Regions from separate parts of the Homo sapiens genome. Here regions 2, 3 and 4 are each linked to region 1. The links are contacts of gene promoters, found by promoter capture Hi-C in blood cells and fetal thymus (Javierre and others, 2016). All regions are on one chromosome and are shown on one strand. Each heading gives the region's core, a stretch centred on a gene start or on the middle of the fragment in contact. The rest is flanking DNA. Distances are from core to core; before and after follow the strand shown. Region 1 holds the start of MAP2K3 (mitogen-activated protein kinase kinase 3). Region 2 overlaps LINC01563 (long intergenic non-protein coding RNA 1563). Region 3 has its middle 64 kb from the start of LINC02693. Region 4 has its middle 14 kb from the start of LINC01563.

Region 1 (5,055 bases), core at 1,065-3,564:
TTAACGCCTCAGTTTCCTTATCAGTAAATGGGGCTATGAGGAATAAATGAGAAAATGCATGGCACATGGAAAAAAAGAAGGAGCTCATAGGGTTTTTGGTGAAGGGCATTGTGGCTCTGCCACCACATCCTTCCCCAGACCCCAAAGAGACTACAGAGTCCCTGGGCCTGAGGGAGGTCCCTGACCCTCCATCCAGCCCCCTCAACCTCATCTAGGACCTGGGTCCACATCTAGAAGTTCATTTTGGCCCTCTCACAGCATTCTCACTGCATCTATGACCCCTCTCCTTTCACAACTCTGCAACTGGAACTTTTATTTTGATGAGGCATTCTCTGCCTGGAGAGCTAAAAAGCCTCCAAAACAAACAGTGCTTCCTACCCTTCCCCGAGCTCTCCAGAGTGGAGAAGTGTCTGATTTCCTGGTTCCCAAGCTCCACGAGGTCTGTGCAGTGCAAGTCCCTCCCCAGACACCTCCCCCGTCGAGTGCCTCCCGAGTTACTCACAGTGGTTGGGCAATGGTCAGGGATCCGGCCTCCCACTTATGTAAGGCATAATTATCCAGCCCACCCGGCTCCAGCCACCATAGCAGCCAGCAGCAGGGGCCAGGAAGAGCCCATGCCCTCCCCAGGCCCACATAGGGCTCCCATTGGCCTGCACCCTCCAGAACAGAAGAGCGGCTGACCCCTGATGAAGTGCCCACTAGGTGCCCGCTGCTAGGTGCTTCCTCCTGCTCACTCTGAGGCTGCACTTCCAGCAGTGGAGGCCTTTCCAGCAAGAAGAATGGAAACAATAGCGAGATGTGTGCAGCCAGTGTACCCTGGTGAGCACCGGCTCTGCGCCAGGTGCTACGCTGAGAGAACGCCTCAGAGCTCTTTACTATTCACCACCCCACACCACACTCCCACGTCCACAGAAGCAGGTGCGATTACTTCCAATTTACAGAAAAGGAAACTGAGGCCCAGAGACACCAGGGAGCTTGCTGGGGTGAAGCAGCTGCAGGTTCAGAAAGCCAGGAGGCAGCCCATTCATTACGGCTATGTCCGGTTTGGAAATCTCTCGCACAACCCAGCCTACTGAAACTCCGACGCACCAAAAACATCCTTTCCTCTTCCTGAAAAAAAAAAAATTCCCCTTTTGCCCTCCGAGTTTCATCCTTCCCCCTCCGCATGACAAATCCTGCTGCTGCCACCTCACAAAAATTTCCAGGAAGGCCAGCTACTTGGAGAAGAGCAAATCCCTTGCACAGCCAGCACCCTGGCCTGGCGGCTGGCCCAGATCCCAGGCAGCCAGGACAAGAATAAGATGGGGTGAGAACCCCCAGTGCAGGGAGAAGCTTGCAACTCAAGACAGAGAGAGGCCGGTAGAGAGGGGGCTGTACCTTAGGGAGGGGTGGGAGGACAAGGAAGGTTCCTGGGAGCCCAGGGCTGCAGGACAGGGTGCAGGCCAGCCAGGGAAGGGGCAACATAGGGCCTATAAGGATAAGAAGAGCTGGGGGAGAGAAGGACGGGGAGTTCCGAGCTGGGGTGTAGCCAGAGCACCCGCATAGGGGGTACAGTGAGGTCCGCAACAACAGGAGCACTCTGGGGCCCAGATGGAGACTCAAGTTAAATCCCAACCTGGATACAGCCCTGGGACCCGAAGCTAGAAATGGGACTGGGTGCTGCCCAAGGACCCAGGTGAAGGCCAGTGTGAATCTCACCTGGGTCCCGCTGAGGGAGAAGACTGGGAGAGTTCATGTCCAGGCTGCAGCCATAAGGCCCAAATGAGGTCAGAATGAGGCTCCTGACTTGGATGGGGTGAGCAGAACAAAGTCCTAGTCTGGGTCCAGCCTGGGTGATCTCGGGCCTGAGTGCAGTCCCAAGGCCTAACGTGGGGGTCCAGGTGAGGGCCCAGGCGGGGGCTGGTCCCGGGACCCCGAACAGGAAGGGGTTCCGGGACCGGACGCCGCTGCCAGGTCGAGAACAGGATGGGGTGGGACCAAAGAAAGGTCGGGGTTTGCAGCCCGGCCCCAGATTAGGCGCGGGGTCAGGCCGAGGTCCCGGCCGGGAGCGCCTACCTTTGGACTGGGGCATGCTGGCGGGCTGGCTCGAGGCGGGCGACTCCATGCTGCAAGTGGGTCCTGGACGGCGGTGGAGACTAATCTAGAGGACTGCGGGCTCCACCGGGGCCGAGCACGCTCATGGCTGCGGGCAGACGGCCCAGGCCAGGCGGAGGAGCAGCGGCGGCGGCGGCGGCGGCGGCGGCGACTGCGGCGAGGACTGCGGCGGCGACTGCAGCAAGGACGAGTCCGCGACGGGCGGCGCCGGAGACAGACTGGGCAGCGCCGGGGAGACCCCGGCCGAACTGCGCTGACTCAGGCCCCGCCCCTGCGTGCCCGATTGGTCCTTTCGTTTCCAAGGCCCGTCCTCTGCCTATCAGACGCCGGCCTGTCCCTGCCTGTCAAGCACACGCCCCACCCTCCTTAGGCCCAGGATCCGGGCCCCTCCCGCTCTCTGTCAAGTCCGCCAGCCGCCCGAAAAACCCAGGTCCGGTCAGGCTCCGCCCCCTGGACTAAAGCCGCGCCCCTCGCGCTGCCCGTCAACATGCAAGCCCCACCCACTCCCGGGACCCACTGAGCCCGCTGCTCCCTGCAGGCGCCCAGGCCCAGCCCGGCACCCCCAGACCCGCAGCCCCGGCGGGTGCGATGCGCGGGCGCGTTCTCCTGGGTGCGTCGTCTGGAAAAAACCCGAGATCCCTAAAGGTGGCACGGCTGGGCCTGCCGAAGTGGGCGGGGGTTAAAAGTGCGCTGCTGGGCTGCCTCCTGGCTCTCTGAACCTGCAGCTGCCTCACCCTAGCAAGCTCCCTAGTGTCTCTGGGCCTCAGTTTCCTTTTCTGTAAATTGGACCCGGGTTCGGATCCGAGTCGGCAGCTTTGTAGCGGAACTAGCCTTGGTCAGGTGGTGACACCTGAGCCTCAGTCTACGCATCTGTGAGCGGGCGGCGGTGACAGCTATCTCCCGGCGCTGCTCGCTAACACGCACTGAGGGCCTGGCGCCAGCAAACGTCGCCCGCGCCCGCGCTCCAGGCGCCCGGCCAGGGCGCGGGGTCGGTGGTGAGCTCAGCGATGCCCGGTGACGAGGCAGCACGAGGAGTTTTCGTGGCTGGTTACTGCTGCCCCTGTTCTACACAGGGGGAAACCGTGTCTCAGAGGGAGTGAGGCGGCATGCGGTGCATTTTATCCCGCGAGCCCCGAGGCCCCATCCTGGCTCTCTCCTGGACCTTCGTTCTCTCCTCTCCTCCTAGGATCTCAGTCTGCCCATCTGCATAATGGCTGGATGGGCCAGTCCTCCCTCTGCTCCCACACGGAACCTCGGGGGATTTCAGGAACCGCTGACCAATCTGGCGCTGGGAACAGATGACTCTGGATGTAAAGCCAGGGCTAGTGAAGGCAGAATGTACCAGGCAAAGGTCAAGGGGTCAGCCCCTGGCCTCCAGGCAGACATGTGTACCCTGTCAGGGACCTCACGTGAGGGAAGCAGATTCCACCACCTGCTAGAAAGGCTTGAGGCCGGGCCTGACCTCTGCTTGCCCAGGTGTAAAGTGGGGGTGATGCAGGGCCCCATGCACAGAGTGGGGAGCCACAGGAGATAAGAGGGAAGCCTTGCAGCCATCACCATTCTCTTCCTGCGTCTCCTGTTCACCCTTCCCAGGCAGTGGGATGGAAAATCATGAGTCTGGGGCTCAGATAGGTATGGGTTCCAATACCAATTCCTCCACTTACTAGCTGGATGACCTTAAAGAAGTCACTGAGCAGCTCTGTGCCTCAGTTTACCTATCCCATGGGGACAATAAGGTCTCTGAAAGCGTTTCATGAGTTCAGGAGTGGAAACACCTGGCCTAGGGCTTGGCACTCACTAGGTGCCCAGGAAATGTGAGTTTGAAAACACTGTGGGCTGCCTCCATCCTTGCCATATCATCCCTGGTGACCTGTGCTTATCCGTCTGTAAAATGGGCATCCAGGAGCAGCTTCCTTTCTACCAGAACTGCAAGGCTAGTCCAGCGAGTTTTCTGGGTTCAGGCACTGGCCAACAGCCTTGACTTCTGCACAAGGCCACACTCCGCCTTGTGCACTCTGCTTCTTGGGATGTTCAAGAGTCTCAGTATTGCCCCTCAAATGTGCCAGGGATGGTCCTGCCGCAGCAGCTTCACCCTTGCTGCTCCTGCCCAGAACATTCTTCCACTCAAGCCTCCTGGGGCTGGTTCCCTCTCATCCCTCAGACCGCTTCCTAAATGAACACCCCTAAGAGGCCTTCTCATCATGGTCCCCAGACTGAGGCACAACACTTATGCTGCTGATGTCTTTGTTACTGACTCAGTTTTTAACACAGCTCTCCCTCCAGACCATCCGAGCCTCATTCCCTGCTGTGTTCCCAATGCATAGCCCAGAACCAGGCACATAGTAGGTGCCTGATAAATATTTGAGGAATGAAAAAAGGAAGGAGGAAAGCATCCACAGACCAGGGTGAAGCGACTCCAGTCCCGTGCCAACCTCCTTGGCGGCCAGATGACTCAGACAGGCCCTCGCATACAAGGAGTTTGGGGATTAGTCAGGAGCCCGATAAACAGCTCAGGAATCACAAAACTCCATGTGAGTGCTATAAATAGATGCATGAGCAAAAGTCCCAGGAGGGTGCCTGGGTGATGCAGCCATCTCCATCTGGGTGGGGACAAGGAAGGCCTCTCAGAGGAGGTGATTTTGAGACTGGACTTTTAAGGACCAGTAGGAGCTTACCAGGCAGAGAAGCAAGAAGAGCATCCCTGGAAAGGAACAGCAGAGGCAATGGGTTGGAGATGTAAAAAGGGCCACACATGAGGACCAGGTGAGGGCCAGACTGGGATGCACAGCTGCACCACTGGAGCTCAAGAAGTACCATCAAGAACCATCAGAGACAAAGGTCTCTTGCTGGCTTGCTATAGTGACATCTCTTGATTTCTTTCTGTCTGTAAGTGGCACAGTCAGATTGGGGAACTCCATGACCATGCAGAAAGCAGAATAAATGTTTGACATGGGTCACAAG
Region 2 (4,992 bases), core at 558-3,057, 190 kb after region 1:
GAGGCTGAGGCAGGAGAATGGCATGAACCCAGGAGGCGGAGTTTGCAGTGAGCTGAGATCACGCCACTACACTCCAGCCTGGACAGAGCAAGACTCCATCTCAAAAAAAAAAAAAAAAAGAGAGAGAAGGTGGTGCTTATTGTTCAAATTATTATACAGATGTCATCAATTGTCATTGGAGGTTGCTTGTCTTCTTTTGATAAAAACCAGAAATTTCTGTCTTTGATTAATTAAAAACAAGATATGGTTTATATAAGATGCTAAGCTTTTGGTGTATTTCAAGGCTTCCTGGAAGCTTCTATATTCATGGCCTGTCTCAGAATGCAAGGTTTTTAGAAATTGAAAGCTTTTTGTTTTTATTTTATTTTATTTTGAGAGACAGGCTTTCACTCTGTCACCCATGCTGGAGTGCAGTGGTGTGATCATAGCTCACTGCAGACTCAAACTCCTGAGTTGAAGGGTTCCCCCCGCCATAGCCTCCCGAGTAGCTGGCACTACAGGTGCGCACCACTATGCTTGGCTAACTTTTTTTTTTTTGGTGGTGACAGGGTCTTGCTATTGTTGCCCAGGCTGATGTTGAATTCCTAGCCTCAAGCAATCCTCCCATCTTGGCCTCCCAAAGCCCTGGGATTACAGATGTAAGCCACCACGGCTGGCCTTCCTTTTTACTTTTTGAAGTGTAAATATGTTCTGGGTTGAAGAGTCTAATGAGTCAACATCAGACAGAGCCAGTCTCAACTACCTCATTGGGTTGTTATGAGGTTTAAATTATACATACAGTTGACCTTTGAACAATACAGGTTTGAACTGGATGAGTCTATTTATAAACGGATTTAAAAAAATAAAATGTGCCTGCCTCTTCTGTCTCCCCTTCCATCTCCTCCACCACTTCTTTACCACTCCTGAGACCCCAACACCAACCCCTCCTCCCCCTCTCCCTCCTCCTCTTTCTCCCCCTCATCCTCTTCTGCCTTAGCCTACTCAACATGAAGATGATGAGGATGAAGACTTTTATGACGACCCACTAAATATATTTTCTTCCTTATAATTTTATTTTCTCTTTTTTTCTGAGACAGTGTCTTGCTCTGTCACCCATGGTGGAGTGCAGTGGCACAATCTCAGCTCACTGCAGCCTTGACCTCCAGGCTCAAGTGATCCTCCCACCTCGGCCTCAGAGTATCTGGGACCACAGGTGTGCACCACTACTCCTGGCTAATTTTTGTATTTTTTGTAGAGACAGGAATTCACTATGTTGCCCAGGCTGGTTTCAAACTCATGGACTCAAGTGATCCTCCTGCCTTGGCCTCCCAAAGTGCTGGGATTACAGGTGTGCGCCACTGCACCCGGCCTGATTTTCTTTTCTTTTCTTTTCTTTCTTTCTTTCTTTCTTTTTTTTTTTTTTTTTGAGATAGGGTCTCTCTCTGTCACCCAGGTTGGAGTGCAGTGGCGGGATCTCGGCTCACTGCAACCTCAACCTCCTGGGCTCAAGCGATCATCCTGCTTCAGCTTCCCAAGTAGCTGGGACTACAGGTGTGCACCAGCATGCCCAGCCTGGTTTTCTAAATAATGGTTTCTTTTCTCTAGCTTACTTTATTGTTAAGAATACAGAGTAGAATATATATAACATTAAAAAAATGTGCTAATCAACTTTATGTTATCAGTAAGGCTTCCCATCAACAGTAAGCTGTTGGTAGTTAAGCTTTGGGGGAATCCAATGTTATATGCAGTTTTTCAACTGTGTAGGGGGTTGGTGTTCCTAACACCCCCCCACCCCCGCCCACCGATTGTTCAAGGTCAACTGTATATGGATGGATGGATGGGTGGATGGATGGATCTATGTATCGCAATAGAACAGGTCTTGGTACATAGTAACTACTTAATAAGTATCAGTCAGCCTTGTTATTGCTGAAGCTTATCAAGGCCTCAGAAAGCCAGCTTCACATCCTCAGCCACCACTAAAACTGTGTGAATTTGGGCCTCTGAGCCGCAGTCCCTTGTGGGTGAAATGGAAATTGATGCCTGCTTCATGGGGCAGTTGTAAAGACCACACAAACATAGATGAAAAAGGGGTGGCCGAGTGCAGTGGCTCATGCCTGTACTTCCAGCACTTTGAGAGGCCAAGGCGGGCAGATTGCATGAGGTCAGGAGTTCGAAACCAGCCTGGCCAACATGGTGAAACCCCGTCTCTACTAAAAAAATACAAAAAAAAAAAAAAAAAAAGGCTGGATGCAGTGACTCAAGCCTGTAATCCCAGCACTTTGGGACGCCAAGGCGGGCGGATCACCTGGGTCAGGAGTTTGAGACCAGCCTGGCCAACATGGTGAAACCCCGTCTCTACTAAAAGTACAAAAATTAGCCAGGCGTGGTGGCGGGCACCTGTAATCCCAGCTACTCAGGATGCTGAGGCATGAGAATAGCTTGAACCTGGGAGGCGGAGGTTGCAGTGAGCCAAGATCACGCCACTGCACTCCAGCCTGGGCAACAAGAGCAAGACTCTGTCTCAAAAAAAAAAAAAAAATTAGCTGGGTGTGGTGGCACACGCCTGTAATCTCAGCTACTTGGGAGGCTGAGGCAGGAGAATCACGTGAACCTGGGAGGTGGAGGTTGCAGTGAGCCACGATCATGCGACTGTATCCCAGCCTGGGTGACAAAAGACAGACTCTGTCTCAAAAAAAAAAAAAGAAGAAGAAGGTGGTGGGGGTGGTTTCAAGAAGCATAAGAGATATTAATATTGAATGTTTTCCCCAAAACAGCTAAATACAGGATAGTCTAATTCGTTTCAGAGAAGAACATTTCCACGTGCACTTCATTTTCATTTCACTTTTATTACATGAAATCTGTACTCAGCTCCTTCTCCATTTCTGCCAGCAAAACGTCACTTTGCAGGTCTGTCCTTTGCAAGTAATGCTGAGTAGTTCACTTCAGAACCAGGCCTCAAAAACTGCAAGTCTTAAAATTTAACAAGGGGGTCTCAGAAAGAACAGGGAAGGTCAGAAAAAAATGTTACTTATTTATTTTATTTTTGAGACAGTCTCACTCTGTTACCCAGGCTGGAGTGCAGTGGTGTGATCTCATCTCATTGCAACCTCCGCCTCTAGTTTAAGCAATCCTCCCACCTCAGCCTCCCAAGTATCTGGGATCACAGGCACGTGCCACCACGCCCAGCTAATTTTTGTATTTTTTGGTAGAGACGGGGTTTCACATGTTGGCCAGGCTGGTCTTGAACTCCTGACCTCAAGTGATCCGCCTGCCTCGGCCTCCCAAAGTGCTGGGATTACAGATGTGAGCCACTACGCCTAGCCCTTTTTTTTTTTTTTTTTTTTTTTTTGAGACAGTCTCATTCTGTCACCCAGGCTGGAATGCAGTGGTGCGATCACAGCCCTGCAGCCTCAACCTCCTGGGCTTGAGTGATCCTCCCACCTCAGCCTCCTGAGTAGCTGGGGCTACAGATGCAAGCTACTACACCCAGCTCATTTATGTATTTTTAGTAGAGACGGAGTCTCGCTATGTTGTTTAGGCTGGTCTCAAACTCCTGGGCTCAAGCAATCCTCCCATCTTGGCCTCCCAAAGTGCTGGGATTATAGGCATGAACCACCACACCCGGCCAGAGAGAATGTTCTACATCACAAAGTATTTAAAATAATTTATTCTAAATAATCTATTTTAAATAAAATATTTTAGATTATTTATAATCATAATAAACTGTTTTAAATAAGCTGATTTGTGATGATGGTAACTTGAGAGCGGCCACCACAATCCTGCCCTCTGCTGTCAAATGGGAAGTGCAGAGTCATGTGAATATCTGTAACAGTTACCCACTTGTGCTGTGATTAAAATAAGCCTTTTCTTGCAAGTATAATGTAAACATAGACTTTAGAAATTGTTGCCATGTCTTGCACCAAAAAAAAAGGAAAAGAAGAAAAAGAAAAAGGAAGAAAAGAAGACCTACAAAAAGGACATTATTTCTACATGGTTACCTTAGTTGATAGTTGTTGCTCTGGTGATAGTGTTGTCATGGGCATCTCTGTATTCTTAACAGATACTTTTAAGGTTTACTTGTTAAATCTGAAGAGCATCGTTGGCCTTCTTTCTTCCCACATGCGTGATGGAAAATGTCCAACTCCTCTGGGCTTATTTAACAATGAGTTTGAGAGTTTGAATTAGGAAGCTGGACTCTGCTTATCAGGAAATTGTGATAATTCAACCTGCTTGGGACAGAAGTTGGCTCTTGTTAACATGTAGAAAAATGGTTTTTAATGATATCACATTTTTTAGTGATTGAATCTGGTGGGCATTACTAATTTCAAACTAATATATTACTTTTGTGATTACTTTGTTAACACTAAATTATGGTTGGAAAGTCATAACATGAGGCTGGGTTCGGTGGCTCATGCCCGTAATACCAGCACTTTGGGAGGCCGAGGCGGGTAGATTAATATATTAATTTAATATATTAATATTAAAATAATAAATTTTAATATTTCAGGATTTTCATAAATTCAAAAAGGGCTCTTCTGTAATTTGAACAGGGTCAATGGCTTCTGCTGTAGACTGTTTCTGAAAAGGGCAGGAGAGAGGAAAACATAAGATAGAGGAAAGAATAACATGAGCACTGAGGTCTCCAAGAAAATTGCTGAGCAGTTTTTAGTGGGCACCTCTAATTAACATTTCAAATAACAGCATCATGCTTTTGCTTAATGTACAGTACATGACTCTCCTTCATACTTATTCTCATCTTCTTTCCTAAAAGGGGAGACACAAACTCCCCTCAGTCACCGTATTCAGTTCTGTATGATGTTAATTCCTCTTCTATTTCAGGCACAGTCCTGGATAGTCTGTCCCTGGAGACTCTGAGGTTAATCACCACCCACTTTCCTTATGTAAAATAGCTGGAGAAAAGAGAAATAAAACTGAAATTGATTCATATATACAAATACAAACAGACTAAAGTATGCATATTTACTACAGTCTTCTTTACTATAACTAGTCAGA
Region 3 (5,129 bases), core at 2,008-4,507, 200 kb before region 1:
TATCAGCATAGGTGACAGAGTGAGACAGTCTCAAAAAAGAAGAGAAACTTTTTTTTTGGAGACAGAGTCTTACTCTGTCACCCAGGCTGGAGTGCAGGGGCACGATCACAGCTCACTGCAGCCTCGACTACCCAGGCTCCAGAAATCCTCCCAGCTCAGCCTCCTGAGTGTCTGGGACTACAGGCCCATGCCACAACACCTGGCTAATTTTTGTAGTTTTGTAGAGACAGGATCTCACTTTGCTTCCCAGGGCTGGTCTCGAACTCCTGGGCTCAAGTGATCCTCCTGCCTCAGCCGCCCAAAGTGCTGGGATTACAGGAGATTGTACCATTGGATCTTTTTTTTTTTAAACAAAGATACTGCCTCAAGTGGCTCACCAAAACCAATAAGGCTTAATCAAGATTATGACTTAACCAAGGACACATGAGGCATCTCCAGAGAGGAGCACAGCAGTCCTCACCAGATCCAGAACCACCTCAAAGACAGCTCAAAGAAAGGAAAGTTTTGCTAGCCACAAATGGGGTACAACCCACATCTGCCAGTCATATCTTCCAGGGTCTCAGCCTTTCAGCTGACCATATACACACAAAAGCCTAAGAGCCCCGTGTAACCCCTCAAACAGGAGATGACAGAAAACCAAAAGCTGTCTATGGAAGGGGAAAGGATCAATGACAAGTGGGTACGCCACAAAGTCAAAAGTCACACAAATATCAAACCAAAAGCGACTGGCTTCCTGACCAGGACCTGCACCCAGGCCATGGCAGTGAATGTGTGGAATTTTAACAACAAGACTGCAAGGTGGGGCCAGGTGCAGTGGCTCACGTCTGTAATCACAGCACTTTGGGAAGCCGAGGCAGGCAGATCACGAGGTCAAGTGATTGAGACCATCCTGGCCAATATGGTGAAACCCAGTCTCTACTAAAAATACAAAAATTAGCTGGGCATGGTGGCACATGCCTGTAATCCCAGCTACTCTGGAGGCAGAGGCAGAAGAATCGTTTGAGCTTGGGAGTTGGAGGTTGCAGTGAGCCGAGATTGTGCCATTGCACTCCAGCCTGGGTGACAAGAGTGAAACTCTGTCTCAAGAAAAAAAAAAATAGACTGCAAGGTGGAGTGGCTGGCACTGCAGATTCCACAAGGGACCCAGGGCAGGCATTTGGAGCATATGAAGGATTTTAGCTTTGTTTCAGGTCAGACTTTTGCTCTTTAACCTCATCAAGAGGATTTCTAAGGCAAGCCATGACACTATGATGTGTCTTTTAATTTAATCTTCCAATGAACATAAATAAGGCAGTTGTTTAGAATAAGAAATCTCTAAACTATTTTTTGTAATTTAGAGGTCTTTCTGACTTAAAGAATCCATCTTTTGGCTGCTAATGGCTAGAATTTCCAATGATGTACTTACTCTAATAGCAACTCCATCCCACAGCCTCTTCATGGAAAGCCCCGGATGTGGTTTTTCAGGCTTAGAGTAGGCTATTACCATTTAAGAAAGACTTGTTTCCTGAAGAGGGTGAGGATAGGCAGTTCCAAAGATCCCTCCAGTAAAATTCACTCCTAGAAACAGGCTCAGATAGGAAGAGACTTTTTTTAATTTTAACCCACAGTTTTTATTGGTTGAAGTAATAAAATAAAAATTAGCTCCTTAGTTCCTATTTCTTGTCTATTGTTTTTCTTTCTTTTTAAAATTTAATTTAATTTAACTTAGTTGTAAGTTCCAGGATACATGTGCAGGACATGCAGGTTTGTTACATAGGTAAACATGTGCCATGGCGGTTTGCTGCACCTACCAACCCATCACCTAGGTATCAAGCCCCGCATGCATTAGCTATTTAACCTGATACTCTCCCTCCCCACCACCGACAGGCCCCAGTGTGTGTTGTTCCCCTCCCTGTGTCCATGTGCTCTCATTGTTCAGCTCTCACTTATAAAGGAGAACATGCAGTGTTTTGTTTTCTGTTCATGTGTTAGTTTGCTGAGGATAATGGCTTCCAGCTCCATCCACGTCCCTGCAAAGCAACGGACTCTGTTGCCACACATGGTTAGGATGGTGTTTGTGTACACAGTGCCTCTGGTGACCCACACATTTCTGGGGACACCCATCAAAGACCCCTTAATTCATGACACTGGACAGCTCTCCTAGGATGGGACTTTCCCAGGACTATCCAGGCAACAAGGGCCAGACCACAAAAATTCCTTATGGATGGGACTTCTTATTAAGACAAACATTCCCAACAGCTGGACACATTCAGAGCAAAAAGTGTGCTGCCTAAAACCTTGTATCTCAGGTTCCCAGGCATCTTCAGACTGAACACCTGATGGGACCCAAAAATCACACCCCAGATGGTAGAAACAAGAGACAGTGCTCCCACTTGTCACAAGTCAAACACTCCAGGGCATAAAACAAGATGAGAGGGGTCCTCATCTGGCTTCTATTTTGTTTTTGTTGTTGTTTTGAGACGCAGTCTCTCACTCTGTCACCCACGCTGGAGTGCAGTGGCATGATCTTGGCTCACTGCAACCTCTGCCTCCTGGGTTCAGGTGGTTCTCCTGCCTCAGCCTCCTGAGTAGCAGGGATTACAGGTGCTCGCTACCATGCCTGGCTAATTTTTGTATTTTTAGTAGAGATGGGGTTTCACCATGTCAGCCAGGCTGGTCTTGAACCCTTGACCTCAAGTGATCTGCCCACCTCAGCCTCCCCAAGGACTGGGAGCCACCGCACCTGGCTTGGCTTCTATTTTGAGGACCCACAGCAAAGTTTGAATGCCCATCTGATCTCAGCCGCAGACTGGCTGCTCTTCAGGTCTGGCCTGAACAATGGGCTGGCAGGATCTTCAGCCCCCATTCTACCCTACAAGTCCTCTCCTCAGGACAGAACACAGGAAGACCAAGACAGAGGAGAAGAATCCTCCTGGAAGGAAGGGCACTAAACAATATGAATATTCACACCAAAAAGTACACCAGAGTCGCTGCACCCAACATTGTTCACACAGATCCTTTCTCACACTAATCAACATCTTGCAGAGGAAAAATGACTGATTTTTACCATCTGCTCACCTGGATTCCACAGAGAGACCAGCCAGAAGCCTGGCTGGTAAGAATTTGTTACCCTTCTGCCAGCTTGTCAGGTCCTGGGTCCCCTGACTGAAGCTTCCAGAAGAGCAAAGCAGCTTTGGTATTCTGTTCAGGACACCAAAACTGTAGGGGCCAAAAGAAAACCTCCACTTTGCCCTTGAAAAGTTCACTGAAAAATCAACTCACAAAAGTCAGATTAATTGGAGAAATGGCATGCACGTTTATTAATGTGCAGATGGAGAAGGACCAGAGCGATGATCCCAACCCCACAATGGTGTGCAGAAGCTTATTTACCGCCTTGAGATTACAGAAGGAACAGAGGCTGGGATGACAGCAAGACAGGTTAGGGGAGAGGGAGGAGGAGGCCTGGCTGGCAAAGGTGGTCTCAGAATGCAGACAGAACCACACAGACAGCAGTCCTCGGAGAGAATAGATGGTAAATGTTTCTTTCTGATGGCTAAATATGTCAGACTGTGAGGGACTCCTTCCTAGATCCAGACAAGGGAAGGCTTCAGAGGAAACTTGCCTGCGTCAGTGCGGATTCTCTACAGATGCAAACCTTCCCCTCAAAAGACAGCTTTGCAGGGCTGCTTCTGTTTGCAGGCCCCTCTAAACAGCCATCTCAAAATGTGTCCAAATATATTATGGGGTGAAATATTTTGGTTTCCTTCAACTACATCCTTACTACTTAGTTCAATGCAATTTCTCTTAGCCATGAACTCTTCAAGTCTTCTTTTTTGCCTGAAAAGGTTTTGATTCAATTCATAATCTTGAGTGATCACTATGTAAGCAGATAAATCTTGGTTGACAGTTATATTTCCTCAGTATATTAAAGAAACCTGGCTGGGTGCAGTGACTCATGCCTGAAATCCCAGCACTTTGGGAGGCCAAGGTGGGTGGATCGCTTGAGCTCAGGAGTTTGAGACCAGCCCGGGCAACATGACGAAGCCCTGTCTCTCCAAAAATTACAAAAATTAGCCGGGTGTGGTGGTGCATGCCTGTAGTCCCAGCTACTCAGGAGGCCGAGATGGAAGGATCCCTTGAACCCAGGAGGTGGAGGTTGCAGTAAGCCTGAGATCACACCACTGCACTCCAGCCTGAGCAACAGAGTGAAACTCTGCCTCAAAATAAATAAATAAATCTTTCCATGGTTGTTGTGTGGCTGTTGAGATATCTGCCTTGTCTACATTAATTTCTCTAATTTTTCCTATCTTTTATTTTGATGTAATTTCAGACACTTTAAAAGTTGCGGCCGGGCGTGGTGGCTCAGGCTTGTAATCCCAGCACTTAGGGAGGCTGAGGCAGGTGGATTCCCTGAGGTTTGAGACCATCCTGGCCAATGTGGTGCAACCCCGCCTCTACTAAAAATGCAAAAATTAGCTGGGCATGGTGCGGGGTGCCTGTAATCCCAGCTACTCAGGAGGCTGAAGTAGGACAATTGCTTGAACTCAGGGGATGGAGGTTGCAGTGAGCTGAGATCGCACCACCGCACTCCAGCCTGGGCAACAGAGCAAGACTCCATCTCAAAAAAGAAAAAAAAAAGTTGCAATAGTAGTGCAAAAAAAATCCATTTATGATTCCTTCAGATTCCTCTCATATTAACATTCAACTACATTTGCTAAATTCTCTTCTCTTGGTGCAGATGTAGAATACTATCACTATTTTCCTAGACCCTGTGAGAGTCAGTTGCAGACATGATGCTCCTTTACCTACAAGTATTGAGCGTGTGTTTCTGAAACCAAGGGCAGCTCTTACATTATCACAGTACAGTGATCAAAAACAGGAAATCTTCATTAACACAATACAATTCTCAGACCTTCACATCTTCTTCGGATTTTGCCAACGGTTCCAATATTGTTTTTATAGGGGAAGAAGATCCTGAACCATGCCTTCATTCAGTTGTCTCATCTGGAACTGTTCTGCAACCTCTTTGATTTCTTGATATTGATGTATTTCCAGATACAGGCTAGTCATTTAATAGAACGTCCCTCCATTTGGTTGCCTGATACGTCCTCACATTGAGAATCAGGTTTTGCACTTTCAGCAGGAACAGT
Region 4 (5,406 bases), core at 1,898-4,397, 220 kb after region 1:
CTGGGTTCAAACTATTCTCATGCCTCAGCCTCCTGAATAGCTGGACTTACAGCCATGCACCACCATGCCTGGCTAATTTTTGTATTTTTAGTAGAGACGGGGTTTCGCCATGTTGGCCAGGCTAGTCTCGAACTCCTGACCTTAAGTGATCCGCCCTCCTCAGCCTCCCAAAGTGCTGGGATTACAGGCATTAGCCTTTAATAATTACTACAGGGCCTGAAGCCATGTCCAGCCACTTTCTGACTTTAATCGTGACACAAGATGCTTTACTTTGTCCCCTTAGAGGCATGTATTCCATATTCCTAGCTATTTTAGAAATTATGTCTTCTGTGCTTTCTTTTATACAGAGGAGAATTCTAATAGCCAAACTATTTCAACAGGCCCTCGTGTGCTAGGGCCTTTCATTGAGTGAATATGCAAGGTTCTCTCATTAAGTAAAGATGAATTAGGAGCAAAACAACCAAATGATGAAGATGAATGAGACTGAGACAAGGACTGTGGCCAAAGCCCACATTCCACTGACTTCAGGATGTAGTCTCCTGCATTCTGTGGGGACGATACCCTCTGATGCTTGTATCCACTGTCACCTTGGGGAGGTGATTTGAGTTCCCAGAGGCTCCGTTTACCTGTCCACAAGAATGGGATGAAAGCACACACCTCACAGGATTATGGCAAGGGTCACAAGAGATCAGATGTGGAAAAGCCCTTTAACACCTACAAAGAGGCCGGGCGCAGTGGCTCACGCCTGTAATCCACACACTTTGGGAGGCCGAGGCAGGCAGATCACCTGAAGTCAAGAGTTTGAGACTAGCCTGATTAAAATGGTGAAACTCTGTCTCTACTGAAAATACAAAAATTAGCCGGGTGTGGTGGCGCACGCCTGTAGTTCCAACTGCTCGGAAGGCTGAGGCAGAAGAATTGCCTGAACCCAGGTGGCGGAGGTTTCAGTGAGCCGAGATTGCGCCACTGCACTCCAGCCTGGGCTGCAAGAGTGAAACTCCGTCTCAGAAACAACAACAACAACAGCAACAACAAAAACCTACAAAGAGTCATGCACATGGATGGTAATGGTATTTTTCTTCTCTACTCTTTTTTCCTTCTTCTTAGTGGAAAATATTACCCAACATGATATATGGCAATCTCTGCTTTGGCAGTTTGGAGGAATTAATGCAAAATAAATAATCTATTAAGACATTTGTGGGCTGGGCACAGTGGCTCACGCCTGTAATCCCAGCACTTTGGGAGGCCGAGGTGGGCAGATCGTGACGTCAGGAGTTTGAGAGCTTCCTGGCCAACATGGTGAAACCCCGTCTCTACTAAAAATACCAAAATTAGCCAGGTGTGGTGGCACACACCTGTAATTCCAGCTACTCAGGAGGCTGAGGCAGGAGAATCACTTGAACCCAGGAGGCAGAGGTTGCAGTGAGCCAAGATTGCACCATTGCACTCCAGCCTGGGTGACAGAGCAGGACTCCGTCTCAAAGAAAAAAAAGAAGACATTTGTGTCATCAGCACCACTGTTAAGAAAACTTATCCAAAGCTTGAAAATAAGGTAAACTGATTTTTAATTTCCTGCTAGACATTACAGCTTTGAGGGATATGCCTCTGCCTAGCCTACCATTTACTCCTGATTAGAACCCAGACATTTACAACTCTCTAAACTTAAAGATTAATGAGCAGACAACCAATAAGGTGCAGTGATTTTCCTTTGTCACCAGCAGAAAAGCCCACTCCAGAGCTGCATTTCCCTGGAGAATATGATTCTCAGAGCGTGGTGCTGGGCCAGCAGCAGCACTTGGGAATGTGGATTCTCAGGCCCCGCTCTGGACCTACAAAATCACAAACTCGGGGTGCAGCCAGGCACCCCAAGCTTCTTCTGTTGTGTGCTCTGGTTTGAGAAGGATTGTGGTGGAGCATTAACATTTTCCAGCTGATGAGCAAATATTATCTCAGTATTCCGTTTCCCATTACTGATTATAAAATTCCCTTTTCCTCATATCGTCTTTTGTCTTGTCTATGTCTTCCTGCTGGTTCCCTCACTAATGAGTTAAACACAATTTTCATGCCATGCTCACTACTCGTTTTTATGAGGATTATGTTTTTAACATTTTGAAAATTAGACTCTGACACCAACACTAAGGGAAATGCACTGAGTTTCTGTTTCTGGTTGTGCTTCCTGGTGGCTGCCGACAGGGCCTCTGTCACACTCCAGTGGCCTCCCAGCACCTAGTGAACAGCCACCCTCTGTTTGGGGAACGTTCCACATCAAGGGTCTCTCATCTTCAGGATGGGAAGGCCAGAAATTCACTTTCGCAGACTCCATTTCCTCAAGGGTACAACACATGATCAGGATCCACCACATGGGCGTGCCTGGGAGGGACCGCAGGAGACAGTGCAAACATGCTTCCCAGGCCCATTTTCTGGTGGAGGTAACTGGAGGGGTTCTCACTCTGTGGCCTCCTAGAATTTGGGTGGTTTCTTTGTCTTTTCATTTATTTATTTTAGAGATGAAGTCTTGTTGTGTTGCCCAGGCTGGTCTCAAACTCGTGACCTCAAGTGCTCCTCCTGCCTTGGCCTCCCAAAGTGTTGTTGATGGCAGCAGTGGGACATCCGGAGTGGCCACTGCCATCATGCCAGCTGCAGCAGGGAGGTACAGGCAGTGGTGGCAGGAGGCAGGAGTGGCTGCAGGAGCAGCAGTGGCAGTGGTGGGTCCCCTGTGCCCCATCTCAGAGGCAGCCAATGGCATCATCCCCACCCTCACATAGCCAGGCAGGACGCTCTCCCAGGCCCAGAGCCTCTGCTGTGGCTTCAACCTCGCTCCCCACCACATCCCGGGAGCCCGTGAGCACCGAGCCAAAGGCACAGCTGGGGCTTTCAGGGCCAGCCCTGAGAGCATCAGGTTCATTTGTGCGGGGTTGGCCAGGGTCGCCCTGCCACCTGCACCTCACCTGCCACCACTGCAGGGAAAACACAGAGAGGAGGTGAGCAGTCCTTGGAGCCCACCCCTGGGAGCCCTCCAAAGCCGGCCACCCTGGGAGCCACCAAGATGGGGCCAGGCTGAGTTGCCTGCCAGTGGGGGAGCAGCACGGTAGAGCACGGAGGGACGGGCAGAAAGGGGCTCCTAGGCGGAGCTGGACCCAGGGCAGTGCCATGCTCCATGGTACTGGGAGGAGCCAGAAGCAGAAGAGCCCCACCCTCCCAAGCACAGCTGCAGCAGCCCAAGTCACAGCTAGGGACCCTGGCCTCCCTGTACTCTTGGGGGCTGGAAGCAGGCAGGAGCCCTACCCTCCTGGGGGCAGCTGCAGCTGCCCAAGCCGTGGCTGAGGACCCAGGCATCTCTGCACTCTTGGGGACCAGGATGGCCCCCCTTCCTCCCACATGCTGGGAGTGTCTGCTCCCACTATCTGGCCTCTCCCTGCTCCTGGCACCCACTACAATCTTGAAGCAAGGATGGGGCTGAGCCTGGGCACTGTCACAGACCAGCCAGGTGTGCACACACTCAGGGCAGCACTGACATACCAGCCCCCTGCCACCTCAGCCCCCTCTGGACTTGGGCACTGATGAGCATGGGAAGGAGGCTGACAGTGGGCTGAGGGCAGCTTGGTGCTGGTCTGCAGGCACCCTTTGGCATGAACAGCCTAGGCTTCATGAATGGCAGCAGGAGGCATACAGGCCCCAGGGTGGAAGGCGACGGGTCCCCAGTGAAGCCCCAACTTCAAGCTAGGGAGGGCCTGAAGCCCGGGGGCTGGGCTGCTGGTCCTGTGGACTGGAATGGGAACTTGTGGTGCTTTTTCTGGGCCTACCCATGGCTGCCCATGGACCAATTGGCATGTGCTTCCTCCCTTCTGAGGCCCATAAAAACCCTGGACTTAGCCAGACCAGAAGAGATGTCGGGACTGCCAGCTGTGGAGAGGAGCTACCCACTCTAAGGTCTCCTCTCTGCTGAGAGCAGGGAAATGACAAGACAACCTTCTCTGCGGGGGAGCTACCCTCTCTACTGAGCGCTAAGTACTCATCGGGACGACCTGCCTAGGAGAGAGGAGCTACCCTCTCTATTAAGGGCTGAACACTCACTGGGACACCCTGGCTACGGAGAGGAGCTACTCACCGTGGCTCTCCTCTGAGCTGTTCCATTGCTCAATAAAGCTCCTCTTCATCTTGCTCACCCTTCACTTATCTGAGTACTTCATTCTTCCCGGACACAGGACAAGAACTCAGGACCTGCTAAATTGCAGGGCTAAGAGAGCTGTAACACAAACAGGGCTGAAACACACCCCTTGCTTGCCATGTTATGGGTGACAAGGAGAAAAAAAGAGAGGAGAGAAGAGCTGTGGCCCTTTGGGGAACCCAGACCTAGGAGCTCCCTGAGCCAGGGTTGTGCCTCCCCCTTTATGGCTCTGTGGTTCCTGGTGTCTCCAAGCTTCCAGGCACCACTGTGTTCCTCAGTGTCAGCTGTGGAAGTTGCTTATGGTATGCCTGGTCTAGCCACAGCCTCGCAGGAAGCTGGTGCCTGTACAGGTGCCTAGAACTGCCTGCCTGGCCATAACCGGCGTGCCTGGCTGTGCACAGTGGCCGGGCCCCATGCTTGCTCACACACCCCTTGCCGCTCCTCACCTGGCTCACCCTTGGCAAGTATGAGATCTAAGCCAGTAGCGCAAGCTGAGCACAGCCTGCCAGGCCGAGTGGGCAGAATGAGCCCAAACAGGCCAGAGCAAAACTTGGACAAAGGTGCCACTGGCCACAGAGGTTTCTGGCTGCTGAAGTGACACTCAAGGATCCTGTAATATTGGGATTATAGGCTGAGTCACTGCACCCAGCAATGGTGTCCTTTTCTGCTTAAACAAAAGCATCTTTCTTTCTTTCTTTCTTTCTTTCTTTCTTTCTTTCTTTCTTTCTTTCTTTCTTTCTTTTTTGAGATGGAGTTTCACTCTGTCACCCAGGCTAGAGTACAGTGGCACAATCTTGGCTCACTGAAACCTCCATCTCCTGGGTTCAAGTGATTCTCCTGCCTCAGCCTCCCAAGTAGCTGGGATAATAGGTGCCCACCACCACGCCCAGCTAATTTTTTTTTTTAGACGGAGTCTTGCTCTGTGGCCCAGGCTGGAGTGCAGTGGCACAATCTCGGCTCACTGCAACCTCTGCCTCCCTGGTTCAAGCAATTCGCCTGGCTCAGCCTCCCAAGTAGCTGGGACTACAGGTGTGTGCCGCCATGCTCAGCTAATTTTTGTATTTTTAGTAGAGACGGGGTTTCATCATGTTGGCCAGGATGGTCTTGATCTCTTGACCTCGTGATCTGCCTGCCTCGACCTCTCAAAGTGCTGGGATTACAGGCGTGAGCCGCTGGGATTACAGGCATGAGCCACTGTGCCCAGCTTAATTTTTGTGTTTTTAGTAGATATGGGGTTT

What was found. The method cuts DNA at HindIII sites, captures the fragments that hold promoters and counts their contacts. A CHiCAGO score of 5 or more calls a contact.
Region 2: a contact is called between a fragment that was not itself captured here and the fragment with the promoter of MAP2K3 in region 1, in 1 of 17 cell types (naive CD8 T cells). The highest score is 5.6, in naive CD8 T cells.
Region 3: a fragment that was not itself captured here is called in contact with the fragment with the promoter of MAP2K3 in region 1 in 1 of 17 cell types (naive B cells); the score reaches 5.9 in naive B cells.
Region 4: a contact is called between a fragment that was not itself captured here and the fragment with the promoter of MAP2K3 in region 1, in 1 of 17 cell types (naive B cells). The highest score is 5.0, in naive B cells.

Annotation. Positions count from the first base shown.
Region 1 is chr17:21,281,970-21,287,024 of GRCh38, reverse strand. MAP2K3 (mitogen-activated protein kinase kinase 3) reads right to left here and starts at 2,314. Exons shown (of 12, transcript NM_145109.3): 1 at 2,056-2,314. The coding sequence starts at 2,104. RefSeq lists enhancers at 606-665, 2,742-3,242 and a silencer at 2,326-2,855. The HindIII fragment of the contact is 5,771 bases long and covers 1,335-5,055 here.
Region 2 is chr17:21,090,165-21,095,156 of GRCh38, reverse strand. LINC01563 (long intergenic non-protein coding RNA 1563) reads right to left here. Exons shown (of 2, transcript NR_110896.1): 2 at 4,544-4,889. Among named protein-coding and RNA genes, the nearest start is that of LINC01563, 17 kb to the right of the region's middle. The HindIII fragment of the contact is 212 bases long and covers 1,702-1,913 here.
Region 3 is chr17:21,485,192-21,490,320 of GRCh38, reverse strand. No RefSeq gene overlaps it. Among named protein-coding and RNA genes, the nearest start is that of LINC02693, 64 kb to the left of the region's middle. The HindIII fragment of the contact is 210 bases long and covers 3,153-3,362 here.
Region 4 is chr17:21,059,154-21,064,559 of GRCh38, reverse strand. No RefSeq gene overlaps it. Among named protein-coding and RNA genes, the nearest start is that of LINC01563, 14 kb to the left of the region's middle. RefSeq lists an enhancer at 2,458-2,577. The HindIII fragment of the contact is 2,550 bases long and covers 1,873-4,422 here.